Regions from separate parts of the Homo sapiens genome. Here regions 2, 3, 4, 5, 6 and 7 are each linked to region 1. The links are contacts of gene promoters, found by promoter capture Hi-C in blood cells and fetal thymus (Javierre and others, 2016). All regions are on one chromosome and are shown on one strand. Each heading gives the region's core, a stretch centred on a gene start or on the middle of the fragment in contact. The rest is flanking DNA. Distances are from core to core; before and after follow the strand shown.

Region 1 (3,642 bases), core at 790-3,289:
GTGTCTTCCTCAGCCAAGAGCAACAAAGTGAGACCAGCCAAGAGTCAGTCATATGACCACCGGCAAAGTTGCCAATGCAGTTTTTCCATTTCATGTGCCCTGTGGAAGGGCAAAAGTGGAAAAGCAGACCCAATCGCAATGGGCAAAAGTGGAAAAGCAGACTCAATTGGAATGCTAGTTTTTTTCACATTGTGTAAGTTAAAGGTACAACAGCTGCTATATGCTAAATTATCACTAGTTATGGGACTTTAGTTACAGTACTTGAATTTCCCCCCAATCCAACTTCTTAAAATGTGTTGAAATACCAACTAGCAATAAGTTAATTTCTCCAGTGTAATTGAATAGTCTAACTTGGTATCTTACTCCTTAACTGATTTTGACTAAAATTATAATATTTACAGGAAAAAAAAAAGTTCAGAGTTAAAAGAATACCATGAAAGGGCAAATGATTTTATGGACAAACTTTGAACTGCATCTTCACTGTTCATTACCTTACTGTATTTGCTAAGGAAGCTAAGATCTCATTTAATTTTTGTGTGCTTTGCTTTGGTTCAAAACTAACATCACATTCTCAGAACTTGGTCAGGCCTTAATCAAATAAAATGCTATTGAGCTTCCACTTGGTCTTTCCACTCTGCTAAGTGCAAAGACAGTTCTGGAGAAATCAGTCGTGGCTCATGTCCTCAAGGAGTTGGTCAAAAGACAAGGCTTGGCGAATATGTACGTGCCATGTCAATGAACTGCTACAATGGAATAAACTTATAATAATGCCTAACATTTATTGACTCCTCATAATAAGGCCATAAACTTTGCATGAATTAACTCATAGAAACGTTATGACGTTGTATCACAAGCAATCCTAATTTGCAGATGAGGACACTGAGGCTTAGGGAAGTTATCTAACTTGCCTAAGGTTAAAGCAATATACTGCTTTTATGGTTGCATCTTTAGTAATCTCTGGGGTTGCTGGGACTCCAGTGCGAGAAAGAGCCCGAAATTCGCAAACTTGGATGATGGGGAAGAAAAGGTGTGCTAAACTCAGGTCACAGAGGTCCAGTCTTAATCTTGTTCCTCTGCAAGCCTTGTTGCTCACACCTCTTGACCGACAGTTCGAGGCAAGTGCTCACAGCAAACTTACTCTATGTAAGCCAAGGCCAGATGTGGGGAGAAGGGGCTGAGAAATGTTAGAAACGTGAACGCAGTCCAGGCGGGAGAAGAGAAGGGGGCCTCGAGGGGTGCCCCTATGCAGCCCACACACACGCCAGGCACTAACTTGGAAAAGCAACAAGCTTGGCGGGAGATCCTCCCGCGGCCGGAGGGCCCTGAACCCTAGGCCAAGACTCATCCACAACCTAGGGGGAGGCGGCCACCAGCGCCCCATCGAAGCTAAAGGGCTGACAGAAGGGCTGTAGCGGCAAGTGTGCGCCAACACAGCTGCACACGCCCAGACACCTGAGGCGCTGAGAGGAACTTCCCCGCGATCCGCCCCGGCTGCACAGAGCCTCTTCTCCCCGCCGGGGCCCCGCCCAGCCTCACTTCTTTTAAAAGCAGCAGCCAGCAGCGCGCCGGTGGCGTGCGGCTCGAAAGGCCGGGAGGACGTCATCGACGCGCTGTCGAGCCTCCAGCCCGCCCGGGTTTCCTTCGCAGTCGCGCACCGACGCTCAAACGCGCGCTCCAACCCGCAGCCTCCTCCTGCCTCACCGCCCGAAGATGGCGGCTCTCAAACTCCTCTCCTCCGGGCTTCGGCTCTGCGCCTCTGCCCGCGGATCTGGGGCAACCTGGTACAAGGTAAAGTGCGGGGGAAGAGGAAGGCCATGGGCAGGAAGAACGTGGACCAAACCCTGAGTGGTGCCCGCGTTTTCTTCTCTGCCCCTACCCGCTCTCTCCAGCCTGGGATCTGGCATCCGTGGCGCGGTGCCCTGGTCACGGACACGCGGCGACGCGTTCCTGGCCTCGCCGGCCCCTCGGATGACCGCCTTTGCTTGGTTCTGCAGTCGCTTCCCTGATGGAGCGAGACGCGATAAAGAAGCGCGCGGAGAGGCTGAGAAGGGGCGGGAGGACTCCTGGCAGCGCTCCCGAGCCCTTTGGCGCTCGTCGGCTTCCCTCCTGGCACCCGCCCTTGGATAGGGACTCTGAGGGTCTGAACGGGGGGAGGAGGGCGCCAGTATATGGAGGTTTAGGAGTGAGGCAACAGCGGGTAGGTTTGCGCCCCCGATGTTGGATCTCTGGGCAGAGGAACCTCTAGAGGCCCAGAACCTGAGGCTGGGTTAGCCATGGCTCTGCTCGAGTTCACCGGGGCTGGATGCCGGGTGCGGCGGGTGTGGAATGCCGCTCCCATCCTCTCCTCCCTATTTGGCTCTGCTGCCCCGTAGACTGGAGCGCTCGCCAGGGCGTCTTGCCGGCCAAGCTGGGAAACCATCCGAGGTGTGTCCCTGGCCCGCGCCTGGGCTGCAGGGGAGGACAAACCTTTCTCTCGAGGCCCCTCGTATCCGGGTTAGGGGCTTTCGGTTTTCAGAGCCCTTTGAAATCCTTTTTGTGCCCCACTGCCGACTCTCCACCGAGTGGTATCCGGAGGCATTCCCACCGTGGACTGACTTGTGGTTTTGCCTTATGCACTGTCCTCGCTTGTAAGCCCACCCCTGTCTGGAGCCCTAGGAGCGAATTACAGGACCAGAGCGCCAGGTCCAGGAGGGTGGCTTTATCCCCGCCGTCTCAATCGCGGGAGCCTCTTCCTTGGTATTCAGTAATAGGTCTGAGCTTGACAGCGTGCCATGCACACGGTGCTTACTCCTGAAGCGTGCCTGCCTGGCCCCATTGCTCTTTCCTGCATCCAATCCCTGACCGCTGAGAACACAGAGGAGCCACTGAGCTCCTTCGGTAGGTGCTAGGGAATGGTTCAGAACTGGACCATTTTACTCTTAAATGCCTCTTAGGAAGCATTTTTATAACTGCAGATAGACTTGGATATATAAAGCATTATTAAAAGGGAACTTGACCTTCAGTGAGATTGCAGCGGTGCTGAAGCTAATACAAACCAGAGCACAGCGATACCCTTGGGCCGAGGTCAGGAACGTTCCTTCTTTTGACAGTTACTGATTTGCCCAACTGTAATTTACTCACTTCAAGTCTTTTCCATCTTGAGTATATCATTAAACCATTTCCGAAGCTCAGCAAACCTCATCTTAGAGGGACGAGATGCAAATAAGGGGTTCTGCTATATCTCATTAAAAGTTCATACAGAGTTCAAACTTAGCCCTGTCAGGCTTGATTATCATAGGTCTAACTCCTGCCTTCCACTATTCCCCTAGCTTGTGGCTCTTAGTGCCCTTATTGTTTTTTTTTTTTTGAGACGGAGTCTCGCTCTGTCGCCCAGGCTGGAGTGCAGTGGCGGGATCTCGGCTCACTGCAAGCTCCGCCTCCCGGGTTCACGCCATTCTCCTGCCTCAGCCTCCCAAGTAGCTGGGACTACAGGCGCCCGCCACTACGCCCGGCTAATTTTTTGTATTTTTAGTAGAGACGGGGTTTCACCGTTTTAGCTGGGATGGTCTCGATCTCCTGACCTCGTGATCCGCCCGCCTCGGCCTCCCAAAGTGCTGGGATTACAGCCCTTATTGTTTAGCACTTTAAATCCTCACCTGCTGC
Region 2 (3,642 bases), core at 495-2,994, 1.7 Mb before region 1:
TGATTCATACTTATAATTCTTTGACTTTTGTGGTAGATTATAAGAAACTTTTATGCCTACTCTTCTGAAACTTCTAAATATTTTATTTAATCAATTGGCTTTCTTCAAGGAATATAACAAGCTTAGTTGATTTGTAGGAGAAAAAAAAATGGGTTTAGAGATCCCTCCACATGCTGACTCCATTCTTCAAACTAAGGGCAAGGTTATGGTCTCCTTGCCCTTACTTTTAACAAAATTGGAAGTAATTAGCTATTTTGAAGAACAACTGTATCCTAGACACTTTGATGGCCTGCCACACTCAAAGTTCCCTTCCAGGCAATTTGGCCACACACAATGCCTCATAAATTTCTAAGTGTTGTATCTTAAGACTCTACACACTCAGCCACTTAGACAAGGGATCAGCAACTGTGTCAAGGACAATCATCTACAGGGCAGACAAGGAAAACTAGCAGCTGCACCTTATAAGATGACTTAGACAGGAACTCTGTCCAAGGACGCTCTATGTTGGCCAGTGACTACTCAACCCACTGGGTTCTCTCTCAAGGAGTTTAAATGGGAGACCCACAGAGAGGGACAAGGAGAGTAGATCAGTGCAAATATTATTTGTAAGCACAGCTATGAGGTAATCAAAGGGAGGTCAGCAGTAACAGTGATAGAAACATCAGTAGTAGATATTTAAAGAGAGAAGATGGGTCACAGCCATGAATTCTACAAATAACATTCCACTTATCCAAGGAGTAGATGGGGGGTTTCTGGGCTCTCACACTTGCCAAGAATCCACATAGCAAACCCTCATCACAAAATATAATCTGATGTGATTCTGTTCCTTGCAACCCAAAAAAGCCTATATAGTACAATCTTATATTTAGATATGGTTCAGACCATCTTTAGCTACAGGACATCAGTTTCTCCTGATGTTTTACTTAATATGCAGCATAAACATTTTTTAATGAAGAGTATCTGTTTCTATATAAGGTTTATTAAAGCTTAGGAAACCCATTCTTGCAACCTAAGATCTGAATATGTATAATTTCAAAATGAATGAAATTATCCCTACAAAGTAACTTATTAAGTAAGACCTTAGAGAAATTAAGTCAACCTAGACCTGAATTTGAACACTGTCTTAGATTCCACACTACCTATATAGTAATAATTTACAGTACACGAAAGGCAAATAATGCTGAATCTTACTCCTTACTGGAAGGAGAAGGAGGAAAATAATAGAAAGCTGGCAAATATTTGGATTGACATACAAAGCTCAATCACATACACTCATCTCAAGTTCACTTAGCTGACAACCTCAAATTGTCAGGCTCTACATGGCAAAAGCAAGGAAGCTACCAAAGATGACTGAAGCCATGTCAAAAGGATTTAGAAGCCAATTTGAAAGGGCTTCCACTGACCAAATAAGAGATAATTTAAGCACATACAAGGGACAGAGAAACTGGCTAAACAATACCAAGAGGATTCAATCAGCCAAACCTAGAATGTTGTTAATTCTACAGAGCAACAATGAAATTCTTCAGTATATTAAAAGGAATAAAGAGAGGGGAACTTATAGATAAAAAGAGACAAAAGAGACATAGCAAATACAATGTGTGGACCCTGTTTGGATCACTCTTTGAACAAGCCAACTGTAAAGAAAAAGAGGGAGGGAGGGAGGGAGGCAGGGAGGGAGGGAGGGAGGAAGGAAAGAAGGAAGGAAAGAAGCAAGAAAGCAATTGAAAAAATATGAATACTGACTGTAGCTGGAATTACTTACTACACTTTTCAATATGGTAATGAACTTATGGTTATATTAAGGAAAAAATAGACTTCTTATCTTTCAGAGATAAAAATAATTAGGAAATAGTGAAGAACCAGAAATTAAACAAAAATGTCTTATACATAATCAATATAGAGATCTTGATGTCCATGGATTTACTCACAAGGACAGTTTTCATGTCTTCAACAGTTATTTACCTTTATTTTATACACAATTTTATCACCAGGATAATCTGGCTTTCCAGAGCAATTTAAAAGAAAGCATCTGAAGATAAAGTTGGAGGCTTGTAGGGACAGATACCCTGCCAATTGTGACTTGTCATCTGAGAACAAGAAAAGAGGCTATAAAATCTATTCAAGGCAGACATAAGATCTCAAAACACCTAGCAGTTTAGAGGTCCTTAATGAATCCACAAACAGTCCTACAAACTTAAAAAACAAAAGAGGGCATTATTCTAGGTGACAAAGGTTGCCCCCCAAAATATCCATCCTGTTCCTTCACCTTAATAAGAAAATGCCATTTTTAGCTGGGTACATTGCCATCTAGAATAAAAGACAAAATGTCCAAGTCTCCCTTACAGCAAAATGTCCAAGTCTCCCTTACAGCTACATGTCTGAGTTCTGGACAGTGAGGTGAAGTGACAGAAGTACTGGGATGATCTTTGGGCAAGACTGATGAAAGAGAGTTGACTTGGGGGACAACCTGCTCGGGTCCCCTTCCATTCTGTGGAAGCTTTGTTCTTTCGCTCTTTGCAATAAATCTTGCTGCTGCTTAAAAAAAAAAAAAAAAAAAAAAGACAGACAGTTGACTTGGTTTAGAAGGGCCCCTTTTTAGCCTCTCCTCCTTCTGGCCTGTACCCCAGAACAGAAGCAAGGAGACATTCTATCAGGGAAGGCCTTGTAGGCCACTGGAAGACTTCAGATCTTCCTCTGTAAGAGCTAGGAAGCAAGTGGCAAATTTTGAATTGAGGAGTGACATGACTGTACATTTTAAAAAGATTATTCTCACTGTCCTGTGCAGAACAGACTGTAGGGGGCAGAGGTAAAAAGCACAGAGACATTTAGAAGACTGGTGCATCAGTACAGGTGACAGATGACGATGGCTTGGACCAAGATGATAAAAGTAGCAATGGCAAGAAGAGGACAGTTTGTAGATATGAGATGGAGCTGACCTATACCTACTAGGAGGATGTAGAATGACTCCAGGGTTTCTGACCTGAGCAACTGCAATCAAATTGCTACTAACTAAATTGGAAAGCATTAATGTAGACCAATTAATATACTTAATTCCTAATTCCTGAGCATAGATGAGCTGTATATGGTACAATTCTCAAATACTAACAAGGAATTAGGAAGGGCTTCTAGGAGAAATGGTTATTATGAGCAATAGGCTCCAGGGACAACTCAACTGGTTTATCTTTTTTGTTTGTTTGTTTTTTCTATTACCTTGTCTTCTCTGTTAGCGCTGGAAATCAGGAACGTCTATAGTACATGGAAAATACAAGATAGCACTTACTTGTTGTTTGTTTAAAATGATCACTCACAAGCACCAGGCCATAAAACTACATGGCTTTTCCTTTTATCAATCATCAGATCTATTAGTTCCTATGACTTGAAGGTTTCATTTACAATCACTGAAGTGAGACTTTACCTGGTTTTACAGGCGCTTTACACCACAGTTCTTGGTGAGTATAAAATGTTCGTAAAAAATCCTTCTTCACACGTAGACCCTTACAGGACCCCAAATTGCTAAGTAGAGGACACGAGCAGCCAGTCACCACTGTTTTCAATAGGTTTGCCATGTTGATATGAGTTCCCAATTTTCTGACTCCCCAGTTTCCTTGAAGGCAAATCACTAAGAAAAAAGAAAATAGGATG
Region 3 (3,642 bases), core at 377-2,876, 1.7 Mb before region 1:
CACCGCCGCTGCGCCAGCCCAGGACGACCCCGCCGCCAGGGGCCCAGTGCGAGGTCCCCGCCAGCCCCCAGCGGCCTTCCCGGCCCGGGGCGCTCCCAGGTACGGAGCAGCTCTAAGGGCCCCAGTCCTCCTTGGCGAACGCTTCCCCACGGCCCTCCACGCGTGCCGAGGCCCGACGCGCTGTCTGCGGTCCCCACCCCCGGTTCCCCGAAAGCATTCCCCGAGAGGGCCGCGTGACCGGGTAGGGACGGGCCCGGAACCGGGTTTGGAAGGTGTCTGCTGGAATCCTTTGTGCGCCTGGCTGGGGGGAGGGGCCGGGTGCGCGGTCTCGGAGTTCGGGGTCCCGGGAGGAAGTAAAAATCGCCTCCCCTCAGCAGCCCTCTAAAGCGAGACCCTAGCGAGTAACCACCTCTTTTCCACCGACCCCTTTAAAACGACAGAGAGGAAAAAAGCTCGCAAGCACTCATTTGAGAGGCAGGTATGCCCATAACGGAGTCACAGCAAGTCTATTGTTCCTTTTTGTAGGCTGTCTGTACACATTCCGGCGATAACCATAAATTTCATGATGGTTCCTGTTTAACTCTTAAAAACAGACGCTTTTCAGATGGTTTTTCAGTATATAGCAAGTTGCTGTACAAAGGAAAGAATGCATCTGACGCCCCGTTTTTTTTTCTTTTGCAGAGCAAACGAGGCCCCTGAGAGCTCCACCTAGTTCACAGGATAAAATCCCACAGCAGAACTCGGAGTCAGCAATGGCTAAGCCCCAGGTGGTTGTAGCTCCTGTATTAATGTCTAAGCTGTCTGTGAATGCCCCTGAATTTTACCCTTCAGGTTATTCTTCCAGTTACACAGTAAGTACACCCTTTTTCCTACAACTCTGGGTTAATTTACTGGAATAATGTGGTTGTTACTTTGTTAATCAGAGTATGTTTGTGCTTTCTGTACTACACGTAAAAAAATTTTTTTATTGTGAATGTTTTGAATTATTGAACTCAGAAGGAAACAAAGCTGATTCAGAAATACATTTTGTAGTTATATTCAAGGTATTAGAATGTAAGCTTGAGATACACATCTGTGTTCTTGTTTCTAGTGATTATTCCATTATGTTAAAATAGACATAGTTTTGATCCTAATTATTGTATGCAGAAATGTCCTACGGGGTTGTGATAAAGTATTTACATAGGTATAAAGAATGTTTAAACTTTCAGTTTTTCTTTGTCACTTATATAACAACTTTAAAAAATAGTCACTTTTCTTAAATAGCCGTACAAAGCACAGTTGGAATATGTAGAAAGGAATTTGTTGTACTGGATAAACCCAGATGAGTAAATGCATAGGGATTAATTATAGAGAAGTGGGAGGGAATCATTGGAGAAATGATTGATGATACTTTAGCTTAAATCCTGTCTTTCCTATCTTCTTAGTTTTATTGAAGTATAGCAGAGAATAGTGTACTTAAGTGTTAGCTCAGTCTCATAAAGTGAACACTCAACTAACCAGCATCCCAGTCAGGAAATAGAACATTATCAACATCCCGAAAACCCACTCTGTCTCCTTCCAGTTGTTCTTGATGTCCAAGTATAGCACTGTTTTGACTTCATAGGATAGTTTTGCCTGTGTTCAAAGTTTATATAAATAAAGTCATATAGAATATATTCTTTCTCACTTTCAATATCAAGATTACTCCATATTGTAGCATATAATTGGAGGTGACTTATTTTTATAACATTCCATTGCATGAATATATCCCATTTGTCTGTTGATGAACGTTGGTAGCTTTCACTCTTGGGTTATTATGAATAGGGCACATTTTGTGTCTTGCTGGCTGTATGCCTTTATTTCTTTTTGGTATATTACCAAGGTATGGAGTTGCTGGGACTTAGGGTAGCCAGCTTTAGCAGAGACTGCCAAGTAGTTTTCCAGAGATTGTTCCACTGTACATTCTGAGTAGTGTATGATTTCCAGTTACTCTGCTTCCTGGTCGGCACTTGGTATTTTCTGTTTAACCATTCTGGTGGGCATATAGTATCTAGTTGTGGTTTTAATTTATATTTCCCTTATAACTGATAATGACACACCTTTTTTATTACCTCTTTTTGGCTCTCCTTCCATATTTGACAGTAAAAGTATGGAAAAAGCTGTGTTCCATGTTTTAGATACTCCATGATTCTTATGCTGTATAGGAAAAAGCTTTGGGATTGGAAAGAAAAAGATACAGGCATAGCAGGAAAAGCAATTGATATGGGGTGAAAAAGGCCATCTATCGTGTAAGGTAGAAATGAGAGCATCTTGAGTTCTTGCCAGAAAATTGTATTTAGCTCACAGAGGAAAAGAACCATTAGAGCCACTGTAAGAGGTTGAATAAACTCTTAAGGATGCTTGTTCTAGCAGCTACAAGCAGGTTCCCATTTATTTTCTTCCCTATTGACTTGGGCTGTTTTATGATGGAGGGATACAGGGGTGTGTTTGTGTATGTAATAATCGTGTATCAACTATTTTTACGTGGTTCAAGTGACTTTGGGGCTGTCGAGCAGTATATAAAGTCATGTTAGTCCACCTACTTTGAGCCACTGCATCTTTTAGGCATTCCTTGCCATCCTCTAATAGATCAGCACCTCCTGTGCTCAATTTACCAAAACAGATTGCAGCCTGGCACCTGGAAACCTGTGTGGCCTGCAGGTGTCTTCTCTAGCCCTGAATGGGTTTGTTTTTTCTTTAAGTTGTTTTATTTAATTAACCAATACCTAAATTAGATATTAGAAACTTGAATGTTCTGGTTTGTCATAAAATCTGGCCTTAGTGGACTGGCATTTTGATACAGCAAAAATTGGTTGGAGCTGAGTAGAGGCATTCTCTTTAGATGGAGTCTGTGAGCTCTAATTTGCTTTCTGGCTTATTTCATTCATTTGTAATCTACCTGAATTCTACAGGCATTCAGGCTTACTACCCCTGTTCTGGTATATTCTCTAGCCTTACTGGTTTACCCTAATCTTTACCCATAGTTAAGGCTAAGAGAGTTTTTCTCAATCCAATTAGTCATAGAACAGCAGGATCCTTTTTTCCCCCGACTCTTAGGATAAGCTCTTGTTGCAAAGGAAACATTTCCTTTTAGTAGCCATAATCCAAAGTTAGCTACATTCACTCATTCAACAAATAGTCAAGTACTTATCATGAGTCAAGCACCGGTGATACAGCAACAAACAAAATGGACAGAAATTCCTGTCTTCATGGAGTCTCTATTCTAGTAGTCTCCTGGCTCAGTTTGCAGACATTTATTGAATCTGCTTTTGTTCTACACATGAAAATCTATTTCCTGGTATCCTTTTTCTAACAGCCTTTATGGTAGTCTTCTGCTGTGCTTTCTTAACTCTTTCAAGGCACCAAGCCCTTTTATCTTCAGTTCTTCCTCTAATCCTGCTGCTAGAATTTCCTACTTTCCATGTCTTCTTACCAGTGAGTTGCTATATCCATTTATCCCTGGCCATTATTTCTTCTCAGACAAACCATTATGCCTTGAATATTTGTCACAGTTCACTTACCAGAGCCAAAAATTTAACATAGGAATTCATAAAGCATTGATGAAGAGACAGAAGTCCCCTTCCTCCCCTGCAAAAAAACGAGCTTTTTTTCTAAGAGAATCCC
Region 4 (3,642 bases), core at 520-3,019, 1.6 Mb before region 1:
TAGAACAGGAAAGAAAGGAAGGTACGCATGGAAGAGACCCAAGTGGGCATGTGAAGGTTAAAGAGAGAAGGCCAGCCGGGTGCAGTGGCTCACGCCTATAATCCCAGAACTTTGGGAGGCTGAAGCAGGTGGATCATGAGGTCAGGAGTTCAAGACCAGCCTGGCCAAGATGGTGAAACCCTGTCTCTACTAAAAATACAAAAAAATTAGCCGGGTATGGTGGTGGGCGCCTGTAATCCCAGCTACTCGGGGAGGGGGCTGAGGCAGAGAATTGCTTGAACCCGGGAGGCGGAGATTGCAGTGAGCTGAAATCGCGCCACTGCACTGCAGCCTGGGCGACAGAGTGAGACTCCGTCTCAAAAAAAAAAGAAAAAGAAAAGGAGAGAGAGAGAGAGAAGGTCAAGTGCCGCATTTAACCATGATCTTAGGATGGGCTCCCTGCATGCTCAGAGCCCTCTTTACCCTTGGGAAGTGAGCACACACAGTGATTTTATGGATTTATACACATGCCCATCTGAGGCTTTCTTCCTTTTTCCGGTGGAGTGTATCAGAAAAATCATACTTCATCACTTTTGTCTCTTAACCGGCATGCCCAGGAAGTTGCTTCTCTCTGGGGCCTGCATTCAATTAACATTTTGATGTTAACAGGTGTGGGCCATCAGGAAATGGCCTTTCCCTGGCGCTGCCAAATTTTCATTTTTAGAGAGGCCATGTGATAATTGCTGAACCATCACCCAACATTTCTAGTGGGTGGGTGGCAGGGGAGAGCCCTCTCCTGCCTTGCTCATGCCTAACTACCTGTAACAGATTCAGTTCGCCATTTTATAATGTATGAGCATGATCTGTGGTCCCCCAAAACAATTACAGTAGTGACATCAAAGATCAGTGATCACACAGATCACTCTAACAGATACAAAAATAATGAAAAAGTTTGAAATATTGTGGGAATTACCAAAATATGTCAGAGACACAAAGTGAGCACATGATGTTGGAAAAACATGGCACCCATACACTTGCTCCATCAAGGTTGCCTCAAACCTTCCATTTGTAGTAAACTCAGTATCTGCAAAGCACAATAAAATGCACAATAAAACAAGGTATGCCTCTCTATGCTCTCACAAACCTCTGTATTTTATCTTAGAAACACTCACAACTGTAATAAATGATTGTTTATTCTTTCTTTCCAGTTAATCTCTAGCTCTGATCCTCACCCGCAAAGAACTGGGCCACCTTCCCTGCTTTATCCCCACTATGCCTAAACACACAGTGAGTGTTCCATAAACACTTGTTTAGTGGCAATAAATATAGCAGACACATTTATTTGCCACTTTATAAGGAAAAAAGGTGCAGATACATAGACGACCTATTTTCTGATACCAAATTAGGAAGAGTTCTCCATCTTTGGCCAAGTTTTTTTTTTTCTAAACAGCTTTACTGAAGTATAATCGTTTTTTACCTTATTTAAAAATAAGTACCACTCCACTAAAACGCGCTCTGTGGTTAGTTCTCGGCTGGACCGTTCAAAAGGCTGATCCTTACAGCCTTTATTATTAATACAACCAGGTCGGGACTGCTTTTGCGTGGGTCACCAGAAGTAAAAAATCAAAGAGGAGCCAACCCCATTCCGAACAAGGAAACACCCGTCCCCTTCCTACACCAATTCCTGCTCCGCCCTTCGTAGGGAACGCAGCGAGGGCAGCCTCCGGAGTGGAGGGGCGGGACTTCCGGCCCTTCCTGTTGTGGAGGGGCGGGACTTCCTGTCTTCCCTGTTGCGGAGCTCTGAAGCGGCTCCCTGAGGGCGCTGGTTTTGAACTGGTCTTGTGCGGTTTGCGCTTTCTCTTAGTGGTTACAGTTGGCGCTGTCTCCGCTTTCCTGTTTCGTGGCGGGCATCTTGGCCAAAACACTCTCCCTGCCACCTTATTCCTCTAGGGTTGTGATTTTTTTCTTTCACCAAGAAATATCACTCGCTGGTAATTTGTCAAACTGAAGAAACCCCTGAAGAAGCAGTGGTGGGCAGGCGCCGACGCTGCGGCTTCCAGAGCATTTTGGCAAATCAAAGCCAGGGACCGTTGCTGGGCCTCATTTCCGCAACTTTTCGGCTCCGAACTGCTGTGAGTGGAAGACTTTTGGTGGTTGTTTTGATCAGGCTCCTTCTGTAACTAGAGACTATAGCATTTTGAAAGAAATGAGATTCTCATTCATGTCAAGAACAGACTTGTGGATTTTTGAGTGTTAAACATACCCTGACGTAATGTGCTGGGTGATGAGAACGCAAGCGGGAATGAGACTGTAGAGATGAGAATGGCAGTGTGGGTTGGAGCCGGGTTATGGTTTCCTATGGTATGCCAAGAACCTTAGTCATTACACTGTTTGTTGTGTATGCTTGATTATTTAAAATTAGAAAACCGCCTCAGTAAAGCTATTAAAAAAAAGACCTGACCAAAGATAGACTATTTTTCCCAAATTGGAATCAGAAAATGTCTTCCATCTATGTATCAGCACCCGTTTTTTCCCCTAAAATACCAAGTAGACATACCCGATATATACGTGTGTGTTTATATATATATCTGTAATCTATATTGCCATTTGATAAGTACGTAAACAGGTGATGTAAAGCACTTGGTATGGTGTGACTTGTGGAAAGTTACCTATGTCATCAATACTAGAGATGGATTGGAGAGAGAAGAAATTCCAGACAGTTGCAGGAGTTGGAGAGTCTATGGCCTGAAAAAGAGAAAGAGGTAGAGAGAGTCAGGTTCCAAAGACAGAAAATCAACAGGACTTGTTACAGGGGCATGGAGTGGAAAGTCAAGTTTTAGAATATTGGCTGCTAACAATGAGACACCATTAATTCAAATTGCAAATTCAAGAGGAGCAGTTTACTTATTTTTCATCATTCAAATATTTATTGTGCCATTTACTATTTGCCTAATACTGTTTTAGATGCCAGAGATACTGTTACATATAAGACAGATAAGGCCCCTGCTTCGGTTGACTTTATATCCTAGTGGGAGAAAATAAAAAGCAAGTAAATAATCAATTTTGATGATAGATTCTATGAAGAAAAAACTTGAAGAGGGATGACAAATGATTGGGAGATGTTTGGGAGTAACTTTAACTTAGTTGGTCGTTGGGCCCTTGTAGGAGTTACATTTGTGCTGAAACCTTGATGATGATAAAGAACCAGCCTTGTGATTAGCCAAGGAAAAGACAAGGCAGGCAGAAAGAACTGCAAAGATGGGAAAGAGCTTGTTTAAAGAACATTTAAAATGCCAATGTATCTAAAGTGCCCTGTAGAAGTAGGAGAGAGTTGAGAAATGACATTGGGAGAGGTAGATAGGACCAGACTGTGTGGCCTTTGTAGGCCATAGTTTAGGAGTTTGGATTTTAAGTAGAAATGGAAGGTACTGGTGGGTTTTAAGCCACGAAGTGATAGATGTGATTTTCATTTTAAAAGATCCCTCTGGGCACTACTGTATGCAGACTGGATTTGAGGGAAGAGATGAGAGTGAAAGTGCAATTAGGGGGTATTACAGAAGCCTGCTTTTGGTAGGAGTGATTAAGTTCCATTTTAGTTATGTTGAGTTTGATTTATCTATGGGACAGGGACATAGAGAGCGGTCTAGCAGGCAGCCACCTGAA
Region 5 (3,642 bases), core at 719-3,218, 1.6 Mb before region 1:
TTTTTTTGAGACAGAGTTTTGCTCCTGTGGCCTGGGCCGGAGTACAATGGCACGATCTCGGCTCACCACAACCTCCGCCTCCTGGGTTCAAGCGATTCTCCTGCCTCAGCCTCCTGAGTAGCTGGGATTACAGGCATGTGCCACCATGCCCGGCTAATTTTTGTATTTTTAGTAGAGATGGGGTTTCTCCATGTTGGTCAGGCTTGTCTTGAACTCCCGACCTCAGGTGATCTGCCCACCTTGGCCTCCCAAAGTGCTGAGATTACAGGCATGAGCCACCATGCCCGGCCTTCAGGTCAGCTTTAATCATTTCATTTGTATTCAAGTAACTTTTCAAAATGAAATGTGTTATAGACATACTGATTTGCTGTGGAGGTTGGATATGGTCAGCTGTGTTAACAATTAACTAATCCTCTAGCCAATTTGAAATAAGATTTGCAACCACAAATAACTGAAATTCTGTATATTTCTATAAAGTGGATAAAATTACGCAATGATTATCTTAAAATGGGGAAGAGTCTTCAGCTTTTTATGAATTTTTTTTCTTTTGGTTTATCTAATTTATTACAGTAAATCTTGTGATAGTCTTCACATTTTAGTGATTTCACTTGAGAATATTCACAAAATAATAGCTTTTTGTTACCTCTTGAATGTATTTTTCTGTTGGGTTTTATTGTGTTTCAGTCTAAGTGCTCATTCATTGCTATTAATGATTTGCCTCAAAAAAGATAGTTTCTTTAGCAAACATTTCTATTGATTCAGCCAATCATTTCAGATCATTCATTTTATTAAACTTGATACTTGTTTTAGATATGTAGTAAGTTACATATAATTACACATATGCATACAAGCATATGTGTATATGCATTAGCAGGTGTTTTTTGGTTTAAATTTTAGTAAGCAAATGCTCAGTCAGTCTTATTTTGTGTGAATATTTTTTGATAAAACTTAAACGCATTTTACTTTGAAAAACTAAAAGAATTAGAACATTTAAAATTGAACTTTAAATGAAATCCAAATATCGCCTTTATTTTGATTCTTAAATGTCACTTGTATTAATCACAAATATAAGTAAATCATTTTATTCTTGATGAATAATGGAAAAAATTTGGCTTTTCTATGACCAGTGAAAAATATTTTGAGAATTGCCCAGTAAATGCTTCACTTTAACATTTTTTCTTTATCCTTTTTTCCCAAATTGTCTTATTTTTACATTTGTTTATAATTTTATAATGTATTCAAGTTCATTTTTCAAGTATTTCTTTTAATGTATTCACTTTAGATATGTGACAACAGTAACATCATGGTGCAGGAGACTGACCCAGACTAGTCCCAGAGAGATGCCCACTCATTCGTCATCTTCTGTTCTCCAAGAAAATTGGTATTTTTCTTTTAAACTTAAATCTGTTTAGAAGAGCTAATACTTTAAAAAAAATTAAAATGTCAAATGGTAAACTGAGACTTTTTTCCCCAAAAAAACTTTCTTAGTTTTGAATATGTTTAACTCCTAAAGTATTTTTGATAGCTTAAGCTTGAAAATAATTTCTAATCAGACATCTAATTTATTACATTTCATCATATTCTATTTTACCTAAAGGTAAGAAAACCTTGCATTGAAAACTTAACATGAAAATGAGTGGCTCTTTTTATGTGACAAATTCATCCTGAAAACTTTATGGAAAAATTTAAAGGGGATTCTTAAATTTTTAGTAATGTTGAAGGAAATAAAAGGTTTAATAACATAAGCTTTCAGAAAACATTGATTTTTAAATAATTTCTGTCATATTAGTTACTTCTCCCAAATTAACTGGCAGATCAAATAAAGCAAGTATTTTAGTCCCTCCTGTGTGCTTTTCAGTGTGCAGGGTACTAGAACTGGGCTTCAAGGGAACTTTCTGTGAAAATATAAGACATTTTAGGGAGGAAATAAGGGCAGAAGTAAAAAGGATATTTTAGCCTGTGGAGATAGAAGATAGTTTTTATGGAACATATGCTATCTATTAGTATATAGTATGAGTTTTGAGGGCTAGGAATGGATCTTATAATAAATAGGAGTTCAGACCTGATGGAATTAGAAAGTCCTAAATGGAAAAATGATAGGAAGAAAGGTCATTAGAAGATTAGTGTCACTGAGAGTCTAACCTGAATATATGGGAAGACAGGGATACCAGGAACAATTTGGGAAGCTTTTTAAGTAAGTTTTGTGAGGTGACCTAACATAGTGTAGTGAAACAAAATGTAAACATTAAGCCAATTTTTGTTACCTTTTCCTAAGCCCTTTCTTAGAACAAATCAAATCATATCAGTAAGCGTTATTTGAATATCTCAGGTAGCTTAAGGATCCAGCTTTGCAGATCCCTCATCCTTTAGCTGTAGCCTGTTTGGAAGCAGAAAAGTTGCTAAAGTAACTAGCAAAAAACAATTGTGATGGAAGGAAAATTGTACTTGTCTATAAAACCATCACTTCACCATTGCTTAGCTGGCAGTTTGTAAAATATCATCAGCCTTTTTATTTGAAAGCTGAGAAGAGGCTGTCAATACACACTAAAAACTGCAAGTAGAGATTGGTGATAGTAGCTAAAGGTGAAAGCAACTAGGAACAGCAGAGGCAAGATAAAGAAATTGAGGAGTAGCTCCATTCCCCCTATAAAGCCTTAGGTATCTCCACTTCGGTTTTTCTTATCAAAGAGGGTAGGTTGAAGGAAGAAACAAGATTGTACAATAAAAAGCTACCTAAGTTGTATTCTAGTATTTTTTTTCCGCCACACCCTCCATTATTAGCTTATTAATTCAACTTTTTAGTCAACAAATAGTACGTTTCATAAAAAGTTCGTTCATTATGAGAGCAATAACAATAAAGGTTGTATTGTTTCTTACATCCAGAAAAATGCGTTGGGTTTAAAAAAAAAAAGATATTTTGCAATAATGAACAATCAGCTGGTTGTTGGGGTAAGTTGTATCCAAGTTCTTTGCCACAGGTGTTTAAAATTATGAAATATTTCTTTTCATTCTCCATCCATAGGCTGGAGTACAAGGGAAAGAGTACAAGCTGACAGGGAGGTGCATGTGATCTGTTGTAGTAAAGCCAATAAAGCAGACAAGTCACACAACCTACTACGAACTGTGAAGATTTTTCTGGTGACTTGAATATTTTAGACTAATGTCTTCATTAATTTTGCAGAGAGCTAGTCAAGTTACAGTTTGTAGTTGTATGCCATTGCTCATATTTCATTCTAACTTGATAAGAAAAAGGATAAAGAACACACACTTAGGGGTTCTGCTGGAGACGTATATATTAGCCCTCTACTCCATACCAGTTGTCCCACTATCTTTCTATAGAACATGGTATAAGAGCTAATGTTCATCATGTTAACCCTCTGTGCTTAAAAAAACAATGAAATAAGTAGGTAGTCTATTCCAGAAAGAATTTAATAAAAAATAGTTGTTTTGACACGTAATTCAACTATTTAAAAACTTGGATCTCCCATACCATCCATTCCCAAAGAGTTCCATATAAATGAGGTCTTAATATATGCACAAGTACAGAAAAGTAAAAAATCCTTTCTTCTGAGAGAAACAATCTAGGTAGGAAGAGCAGGAAGTTAAATAGTTCAAGAGAAGATATTACAAATAAGTATGTGA
Region 6 (3,642 bases), core at 307-2,806, 1.5 Mb before region 1:
AAAACAGGTTGCAGTGAAGAAGCCGGCTAAATCCTACCAAAACCAAAATGGCCACAAGGGTAACCTCTGGTCGCCCTCACTACTACACTCCCATCAGCGCCATGACAGTTTACAAATGCCATGGCAACGTCAGAAAGTTACCCGATTTGGTCTCAAAAGGGGAGGCATGGGCTGGACGCAGTGGTTCACGCCTGTAATCCCAGCACTTTGGGAGGCAGAGGCGGGCGGATCACGAGGTCAGGAGATCGAGACCATCCTGGCTAACACGGTGAAACCCCGTCTCTACTAAAAATACAAAAATTAGCCGGGTGTGGTGGCGGGCGTCTGTAGTACCAGCTACTGGGGAGGCTGAGGCAGGAGAATGGCGTGAACCTGGGAGGCGGAGCTTGCAGTGAGCAGAGATCTCGCCACTGCACTCCAGTCTGGGCAACAGAGCGATACAGAGCGATACTCCGTCTCAAAAAAAAAAAAAAAAAAAAAAAAGGCGGGGGGTAAGGCATGAATAGTCCACTCCTTGTTTAGCATATCATCAAGAAATAACCATAAAAATGGGCAACCAGCCACCCTCAGGGCTGCTCTATGAAGTAGCCATTCTTTTATTCCTTTGCTTTCTTAATAAACTTGCTTTCACTTTGCACTGCGGACTGGCCCTAAATTCTTTCTTGCACGAGATCCAAGAACTCTCTCTTGGCGTCTGGATGGGGACCCCTTTCCTGTAACGCAATGGCAGGATCAAAGCCTCCAACTCCTGGGTTCAAGTGATCCCCCTGCCTTAGCCTCCCAAGTAGGTGGGCCACAACGCCTGGCTAATCTTTTAAATTTTTTGTAGAGACAGGGTCTCACTATGTTGCCCAGGCTGGTCCTGAACTCCTGGCCTCAAGCAATCCTCCCACCTCAGTCTCCCAAAGTACTGGGATTATAGGTATGAGCCACCACACCTGGCTCAAACTTTTAAACTATTACTTTGCACAGGAACCTTCACTTCAAACACTAAGAATTTAAAAAAGGAGCCATGACTGCAAATACAGTGAGATAAAGCTATGACACTTTGTGAGAATAAAGTAGAAATTGTGGATAAAATGAACAATTTCTTGGAAAAATAATAAATATATAAATATATATGTAAATATATATATATTATATATACAAGTAAGCCAATAACAAATCCAACTTAAACATCTTTCCTCAGACACCAGGCCTAGATAGTTTTTTAAGTTTTACCAAAAATTGGAGGAACAGAAAATCTTTATCTTATACAAACTCTTTCAAAGGATGGAAGAACAGAGAAAACTACCTAATGCATTGTTGAGATTAACATACCCTTAATACCCAAAACATGGAAGGATGGTAACAGGGTATAAAAGTATAGATTAATTTATGAACAGAGGTGCAAAAATCTTAATAAATAGCATATCTTATACAATATATAAAAATTAATATATTATGAATAAGTATGGTTTATCCCAGGAGGGCAAGGAAGAAAATAGATTAATCCACCGCAGCAATTTAAAACTTTCAATGGGCTAGGTACTGTTCTAGGCATTTAGCAAAGTAACAGATTTTAAAAGAGAAAAATCCTTTATTTCCTACACAGGAATTGAGAAGAAAGAGATGAAAATGACGATTTACCTGTAAAACTGGAGTATCTACTCCAAACTATTAAAAATAAAAAAATTCAGCAAGGTTGCTGGATACAAGAGCAACATTAAATAATCAATAGAATTCTTATACATAAAAATTAACTAATTAGAAAAAAGTATTTTTAAAGAGTTCATTCACAATACAACAAAATATATAAGGTACCTAAATATAGATCTAAGATATACGACATTATCTTATCATTTTCTTCATAAAGATCTTGGAGGACCAAGAAAATCTGAATAGATAGAGAGATAATTCCATATTTATGAATGGGAAGACAATATATTTCAGATCTTAGTTGTAAACTTAGTGCAATTCCAACCACAATTCCTGAAATTCTTAAAGAACTAAGCAAACTGATTCTAAAATTTATCTAAAAGGTAAAGGATCAAGAACAGCCAAGACAATTTTGAAGAATAAATTGAGTGGGAAGACTTATTGTATCAAGTTTTGAGATTTATTAAAAAGTGTCTTAGTTGAAACATGTGGAATTGATGCAGAGATCAATAAGTAGAGCATGAGACAGAAGAAAAAGCCCAGAAGCAGACCTATGTGTATGTGTAAACTTGAAGATTTAAGGAGTGTCTGCATATCAGTGAGATGGGGTGGTTCTGTTATGGAAAGAACAATCCTGCCAATGAAAGATTCCTCTGTACCAATACAGAAGAGAAAAAAAAGTATTACTGAGTAAGCATTAACACATTTACAAGCATGTACGGCAGCACAAAAGTGACTATGAAATTGGAACAGAATTTTATATAGCATAGCAGAAGAAAGAATAACTTCTCACCTCCTCAAAAGATAAAAGGGTCACACCTTGTGACAGTTTCTACACGTCTTGTGAGAGACCCTGAGCTAAATCCAGAGGTGTTTTTAAAAATACATCTGGAGGTTATTTGGCCCTTGGCCTTGGATATATATAGCTATTATTACAAAAACTGAAGAGTGGGCTTAATCCTTGTAGAGATTTATCTCAATCCAAAAGTAAAGATTAAGATACACTATGTCTTTAAAGAACCTCATCTTAAGAATGGAGGAAAGGAGGCCGGGCGCGGTGGCTCACGCCTGTAATCCCAGCACTTTGGGAGGCTGAGGTGGGTGGATCATTTGAGGTCAGAAGTTCAAGACCAACCTGGCCAACATGGTGAAACCTCACCTCTACTAAAAATACAAAAATTAGCTGGGCATGGTGGCTGGCACCTGTGGTCCCAGCTACTTGGGAGGCTGAGGCAGGAGAATCGCTTGAACCCAGGAGGTGGAGGTTGCAGTGAGCCGAGATTGTGCCACTGCCCTCCAGCCTGGGCAACAGAGTGATACTCTGCCTCAGAAAAAAAGAAAAGAAAAAAAAAAACGGAAGAAAGGGATGGGTGTGGTGGTAGCTCATGCCTGTAATCCCAACATTTGGGGAGGCCAAGGTGGGCGGATCCCTTGAGTCCAGGACTTGGAGACCAGCCTGGGCAACATGGCAGGACCCCCATCTTTTGAAAAGACTTTTTAAGTAAAAAATACATACATTTTAAAAAGTATGGAATAAAGGGGGAAGTGGTTTCTTTGCCCTTTGTAAATGGAGAAAAAAATTTCATTTACCACTATAGTTCTGAGACAATAGGTATTCTCATGCAAAAACTTTTTTTCTGACTCACAATCTATAAAAAATAAATTACAGGGGTAAAAAAGCTTTGCTTTTTAAAACAAAATTATTATTATGTTATTTTTATGATATCTGACTATGGGAGGATTTGCTAAATAAGACATAAATGGCAAACTGTAAGGAAATACTTCAAAGTTAAAAGATACACTTACCAAGGGGGAGAAAATATTTTCTAATTACTGAGAAGAGATAAGTATCCCAAATATTTTATGAGTTCTTATAAATAATTTTTTAAAAATCAAGGTAAAAAAATAGCTGGCAAAAATAAGATTTGGCAATTCAAAGAGAAAATGTGAATGATTAATAACTTACCAGTAGGGGAACACAAATGAAGCCACATTAAGGTACAA
Region 7 (3,642 bases), core at 427-2,926, 1.4 Mb before region 1:
CTTCCATCTCCCAACACCAAGTTCACTTCGTGTGTCTCACAACAGGAAGGAAACTTAGCATTCCTTGGAGACCTGGAGGGATGAAGTAAGCTTAAGAATTTTTAAGAGCTTACCAGTCAGCCCTTGTTCATCCCTGAGTGGATGTGTGGTGGTATTGTGGTGGACCTTTACTAGACACTCTGCTGAATAACTGGAGTGACACTTGTGCTTTAGTCCAGTTGGCTATCCCTTTCACCTTGGCATTTTATCAACCAGAGGAAGGAAAAATAAGACATCATAAAGCGAGAGAAGCCCCTTATGGGTCTTTCGACTCTCACGTCTATTTAGATGCAGTTGGAGTCCCACAGGGAATACGAGATCAATTTAAAGCCCGAAATCAAATAGCTGCAGGATTTGAGTCAATATTTTGGTGGGTGACAATTAATAAAAATGCAGATTGGTTAAACGACATCTATTACAACCAACAGTGATGTATTAACTACACTAGAGATGCTGTTAAAGGAATAGCTGAGCAATTAGGGGCTATTAGCCAGATGGCTTGGGAAAATAGGATAGCCTTAGACATGATATTAGCAGAAAGAAGATGAGTTTGCGTTATGATTAAAACTCAATGTTGCACCTTCATCCCAAACAACGCCACCCCTAATGGAAGTATAACAAAGGCATTGTGAGGTCTGACTGCTCTATCCAATGAGTTAGCCAGCAACTCACGGGTAAATGATCCCTTTACAGGATGGCTAGAAAAGTGGTTCGGTAAATGGAAAGGAATAATAGCCCCAATTCTTACCTCCCTCATAGTCATAATAGGTGTACTTATTCTTGTCAGGTGCTGTGTCATACCATGCATCTGTGGGTTGGTGCAGAGGCTCATAGAAACGGTACTTACTAAAACCTCCCTTAACTATCCTCCACCTCATCCAGAAAAGCTTCTTCTTTTGGAAAATCAAGCAGAACAACTAAATCAAGACATGTTAAATAAGTTTGAAGAGAAAGCTGTAAGAAAAATGCAAGAGGAGGAAGTTGTTAAATATGAATTCTAAATTTCTCTTCAAAGAATTAATATGTCAGTATGTTCCATTCTTTGCCTTCTACTTTTAAACGTAGCTTCCTAGTAAAGCAACCTTTTCTGATTACCTACTCCAACCTGACTCATTCTCCACCTTGACTCATTCTGATTACGTACTCCACCTTGACTCATTCCAATTCATTCTTCACCCTGACTCATTTCATAACCATTTTTCCCGCCATCACTGTCTTTAAATTAGTCCATCGGAATTAGTTTAGCCTGTGCAGTCTAACCCTAGCCAATAAGGGAACGACACAGCAGTGGGGACCACGTGCGTCAGGAATAAGAACCCCTTTCCCTCCCTCGTCCAAGTGTGCACTCACCATTGCTCCATCTGTAAGGGTGCACCCTTCTATAGAAGTACCTTGCCTTGCTGAGAATTAAAAAGAAAATTTTATATTCGACTGCTATTTCTTTTGCAGCATGGAAACTTTATTTATAACAAGATCTTCTGTATCTAATTACTAACCCTTTTTGTTCTCCATTGCTTGGCTTCCCAGTAATCAATAATCATGCTCACTTTGCTTAATTGAAGATTAACGTGATCAAAAAGACGGTCTGTTCCTTGTAGAAATTTCCGGTTGTGTAAGATGGTCATTCTCATGACCGTCTGGCTAATCATTTCCCATTATGTACTCCTGGAGTTGGAATTATTTGCGATTCCTAACGACAAAACTGTATCTTCTTTCTTGTGTTTGTCCTTACTGCCTTTCAGCATATTCCAATATGCCAAGAATTTTAATCTCCTACCCCACCCCAAATTGCTGTTGATCATAATCAGGCAATGTCTCTCTCTCTGTTTACTATCTAGTTACTTTACATACATATGAAGTGAGTCATGGGCAATACTGTGGAATGGAAATCATTACTGAGTGGTCCTCTTCCCCCAAGTCATTTATGCCACCACTTCACAGTGGTTCCATTTCCAATATATTTTGCCACTTTGCTGCTGAGAATGTGTCTTACTAGGTTAGCATCTATAGTGGTTAAAAGAATCTCCCATAACAATAATTGTGTGAATCACAGAATTACCAATGACCCCTTATCAATAGCATTCCTGTTAATTAAATTGAGATGGGGAGAGATACAAACAACTCCGAACCTCACTCATGGTCCCCCACCAAAGCTAAGTATTATGGCTTCTCTCTCTGACCAGATAGAGGCAGAGTTTATTGCAAAGCCACAAGTGTCCTCCTTTGGATTCCCCCAAATAGTGTTTCAGTGAATTCCTCTAGCTTGAATTGCTCCTCTCTATTTGCTGGGGGAGTTAGGCAGTCCGTATCCGATGGATTTACTATGCCGACAATTACGTGGCCTTTCCACAGCCTTTTACTTGGCAGGTACCACATATGAAGCTTAGAAGATACAGTGGGCAACAGGCCAAATGGAGTCCCTTTCCTCAGAGTGCATGGCCTGGCAAAAATCCTTGAATTCAGTATCAACTTCCCTTCACAGGCAAGGCTCTGCACCCTCCCCACGGATGCCTAATCCTGAAACCATTTTGTTTTAGGTTTAGTTAGAAAGCTTTGTCTCAAGAGCACTTTTGTTTGTTCTGTTTTCTTTAAGTCAAGGTAGTTTTGAATAAAGGAGACAATATTTGAGTATTTACAAATCGGGTATTTAGACTATTTACACATATACAAGTTCTGGGTGAAGTATTCTGCTCCAATTTGCAATCTACGCACACTTTGCTAGAAAACGTTAAGACTGAATTCAAATCAAGTACAGTATTTCAGAAATCTTTCAGGTGAAGCCTAGTTCTGGTTGCTAGGCAACCTGACAGACTCCCAAGCTGGGACCACCTCGCCTCCCACATTTGACCATCTCTCCAGCGGTGGGACGCGGAGTACCCATTGGCCCGCATCTCCTCTCACTTAGTCCCAATTGGTCGGAGAACCTCTCACTCCGCTCCCGTTGGCTCTCGCCGTATCTCGCAGCTCCGTCATTGGCAACTGGGCTCTCGTGCCACCTCACGTCAGTCTCTCACACCACTTCCTCGGCCCTGAGACTTTGTCCCCGCCTCTTCTCCCCGCCCTTCCAGCCACGAGGGAAAATCCTAGCGAGTCATCGCCTCTAGTTTCCTTTTGATTGGTAGAAGCCGGACTGGGGGGCGGGCGCTGCCGGGCAACTCTACCGGCCGCGATTGGCTGTGGGAGCCACCGTCCCGCCTCCCAGCGACTCTCGGCGGTGCCGGAGTCGGGTGGGTTGGCGGCTATAAAGCTGGTGGCGAAGGGGAGGCGCCGCGGACTGTCCTTTCGTGGCTCACTCCCTTTCCTCTGCTGCCGCTCGGTCACGCTTGGTGAGTGTCCCGCGCTGGGGAGTAGAACTGGGCTGCGGAGGTGCCGCGGGCGGGGTGTGGGCCAGACAGAGGCGGTGTCCTTGACTAGGCCCGAAGGAGCTGGGGCTCTGGGTCAGGACGTAGGCGTGGACTTTGCCCGGGAGGATGGGGCACCGTGAGCGGGGCCGGGCGGGGGTTCCCTCGTGAGGGACCTGAGGCCGACCGTAGCGGATCTGAGAAGATCCGAGAACACAGGCGAGTCGCGGAGGGGAGAACGCGAGAGGGCGTTGAGGTCTAG

Evidence for each region. The method cuts DNA at HindIII sites, captures the fragments that hold promoters and counts their contacts. A CHiCAGO score of 5 or more calls a contact.
Region 2: a contact is called between a fragment that was not itself captured here and the fragment with the promoter of OXCT1-AS1 in region 1, in 1 of 17 cell types (non-activated CD4 T cells). The highest score is 5.3, in non-activated CD4 T cells.
Region 3: a fragment that was not itself captured here is called in contact with the fragment with the promoter of OXCT1-AS1 in region 1 in 2 of 17 cell types (non-activated CD4 T cells and naive CD4 T cells); the score reaches 9.1 in non-activated CD4 T cells.
Region 4: a contact is called between the fragment with the promoter of C5orf34 here and the fragment with the promoter of OXCT1-AS1 in region 1, in 6 of 17 cell types (non-activated CD4 T cells, fetal thymus, neutrophils and 3 more). The highest score is 11.9, in non-activated CD4 T cells.
Region 5: a contact is called between a fragment that was not itself captured here and the fragment with the promoter of OXCT1-AS1 in region 1, in 1 of 17 cell types (non-activated CD4 T cells). The highest score is 5.1, in non-activated CD4 T cells.
Region 6: a fragment that was not itself captured here is called in contact with the fragment with the promoter of OXCT1-AS1 in region 1 in 1 of 17 cell types (non-activated CD4 T cells); the score reaches 6.3 in non-activated CD4 T cells.
Region 7: a fragment that was not itself captured here is called in contact with the fragment with the promoter of OXCT1-AS1 in region 1 in 4 of 17 cell types (non-activated CD4 T cells, naive CD4 T cells, naive CD8 T cells and 1 more); the score reaches 10.2 in non-activated CD4 T cells.

What each region holds. Positions count from the first base shown.
Region 1 is chr5:41,868,427-41,872,068 of GRCh38, reverse strand. OXCT1-AS1 (OXCT1 antisense RNA 1) reads right to left here and starts at 2,039. Exons shown (of 3, transcript NR_046635.1): 1 at 1,877-2,039; 2 at 1,687-1,778; 3 at 1-1,303. OXCT1 (3-oxoacid CoA-transferase 1) reads left to right here and starts at 1,644. Exons shown (of 17, transcript NM_000436.4): 1 at 1,644-1,788. The coding sequence starts at 1,711. LOC102723752 (a long non-coding RNA gene) reads right to left here. Exons shown (of 3, transcript XR_925956.4): 1 at 2,467-3,642. RefSeq lists enhancers at 1,048-1,097, 1,928-2,007. The HindIII fragment of the contact is 3,584 bases long and covers 1,292-3,642 here.
Region 2 is chr5:43,609,120-43,612,761 of GRCh38, reverse strand. It overlaps NNT (nicotinamide nucleotide transhydrogenase), which reads right to left. Exons shown (of 22, transcript NM_182977.3): 2 at 3,416-3,619. The coding sequence starts at 3,566. Among named protein-coding and RNA genes, the nearest start is that of NNT-AS1, 7.7 kb to the right of the region's middle. The HindIII fragment of the contact is 1,511 bases long and covers 989-2,499 here.
Region 3 is chr5:43,553,039-43,556,680 of GRCh38, reverse strand. PAIP1 (poly(A) binding protein interacting protein 1) reads left to right here. Exons shown (of 11, transcript NM_006451.5): 1 at 1-99; 2 at 682-851. Among named protein-coding and RNA genes, the nearest start is that of PAIP1, 2.2 kb to the left of the region's middle. RefSeq lists a silencer at 1-168. The HindIII fragment of the contact is 1,132 bases long and covers 1,061-2,192 here.
Region 4 is chr5:43,513,275-43,516,916 of GRCh38, reverse strand. It overlaps C5orf34 (chromosome 5 open reading frame 34), which reads left to right and starts at 1,769. Exons shown (of 13, transcript NM_198566.4): 1 at 1,769-2,111. LOC124900190 (a long non-coding RNA gene) reads right to left here. Exons shown (of 3, transcript XR_007058764.1): 2 at 1-2,724. RefSeq lists an enhancer at 2,002-2,161. The HindIII fragment of the contact is 8,167 bases long and covers 1-3,642 here.
Region 5 is chr5:43,488,370-43,492,011 of GRCh38, reverse strand. C5orf34 (chromosome 5 open reading frame 34) reads left to right here. Exons shown (of 13, transcript NM_198566.4): 11 at 1,283-1,381. All of the region lies in intron 2 of C5orf34-AS1 (C5orf34 antisense RNA 1), which reads right to left. Among named protein-coding and RNA genes, the nearest start is that of C5orf34-AS1, 6.3 kb to the right of the region's middle. RefSeq lists an enhancer at 3,030-3,199. The HindIII fragment of the contact is 440 bases long and covers 1,749-2,188 here.
Region 6 is chr5:43,392,697-43,396,338 of GRCh38, reverse strand. All of the region lies in intron 1 of CCL28 (C-C motif chemokine ligand 28), which reads left to right. Among named protein-coding and RNA genes, the nearest start is that of CCL28, 18 kb to the left of the region's middle. The HindIII fragment of the contact is 3,529 bases long and covers 1-3,320 here.
Region 7 is chr5:43,313,079-43,316,720 of GRCh38, reverse strand. It overlaps HMGCS1 (3-hydroxy-3-methylglutaryl-CoA synthase 1), which reads left to right and starts at 3,309. Exons shown (of 11, transcript NM_001098272.3): 1 at 3,309-3,365. RefSeq lists enhancers at 588-1,787, 1,882-2,396, 2,397-2,913, 2,920-3,149, 3,400-3,539. The HindIII fragment of the contact is 1,495 bases long and covers 929-2,423 here.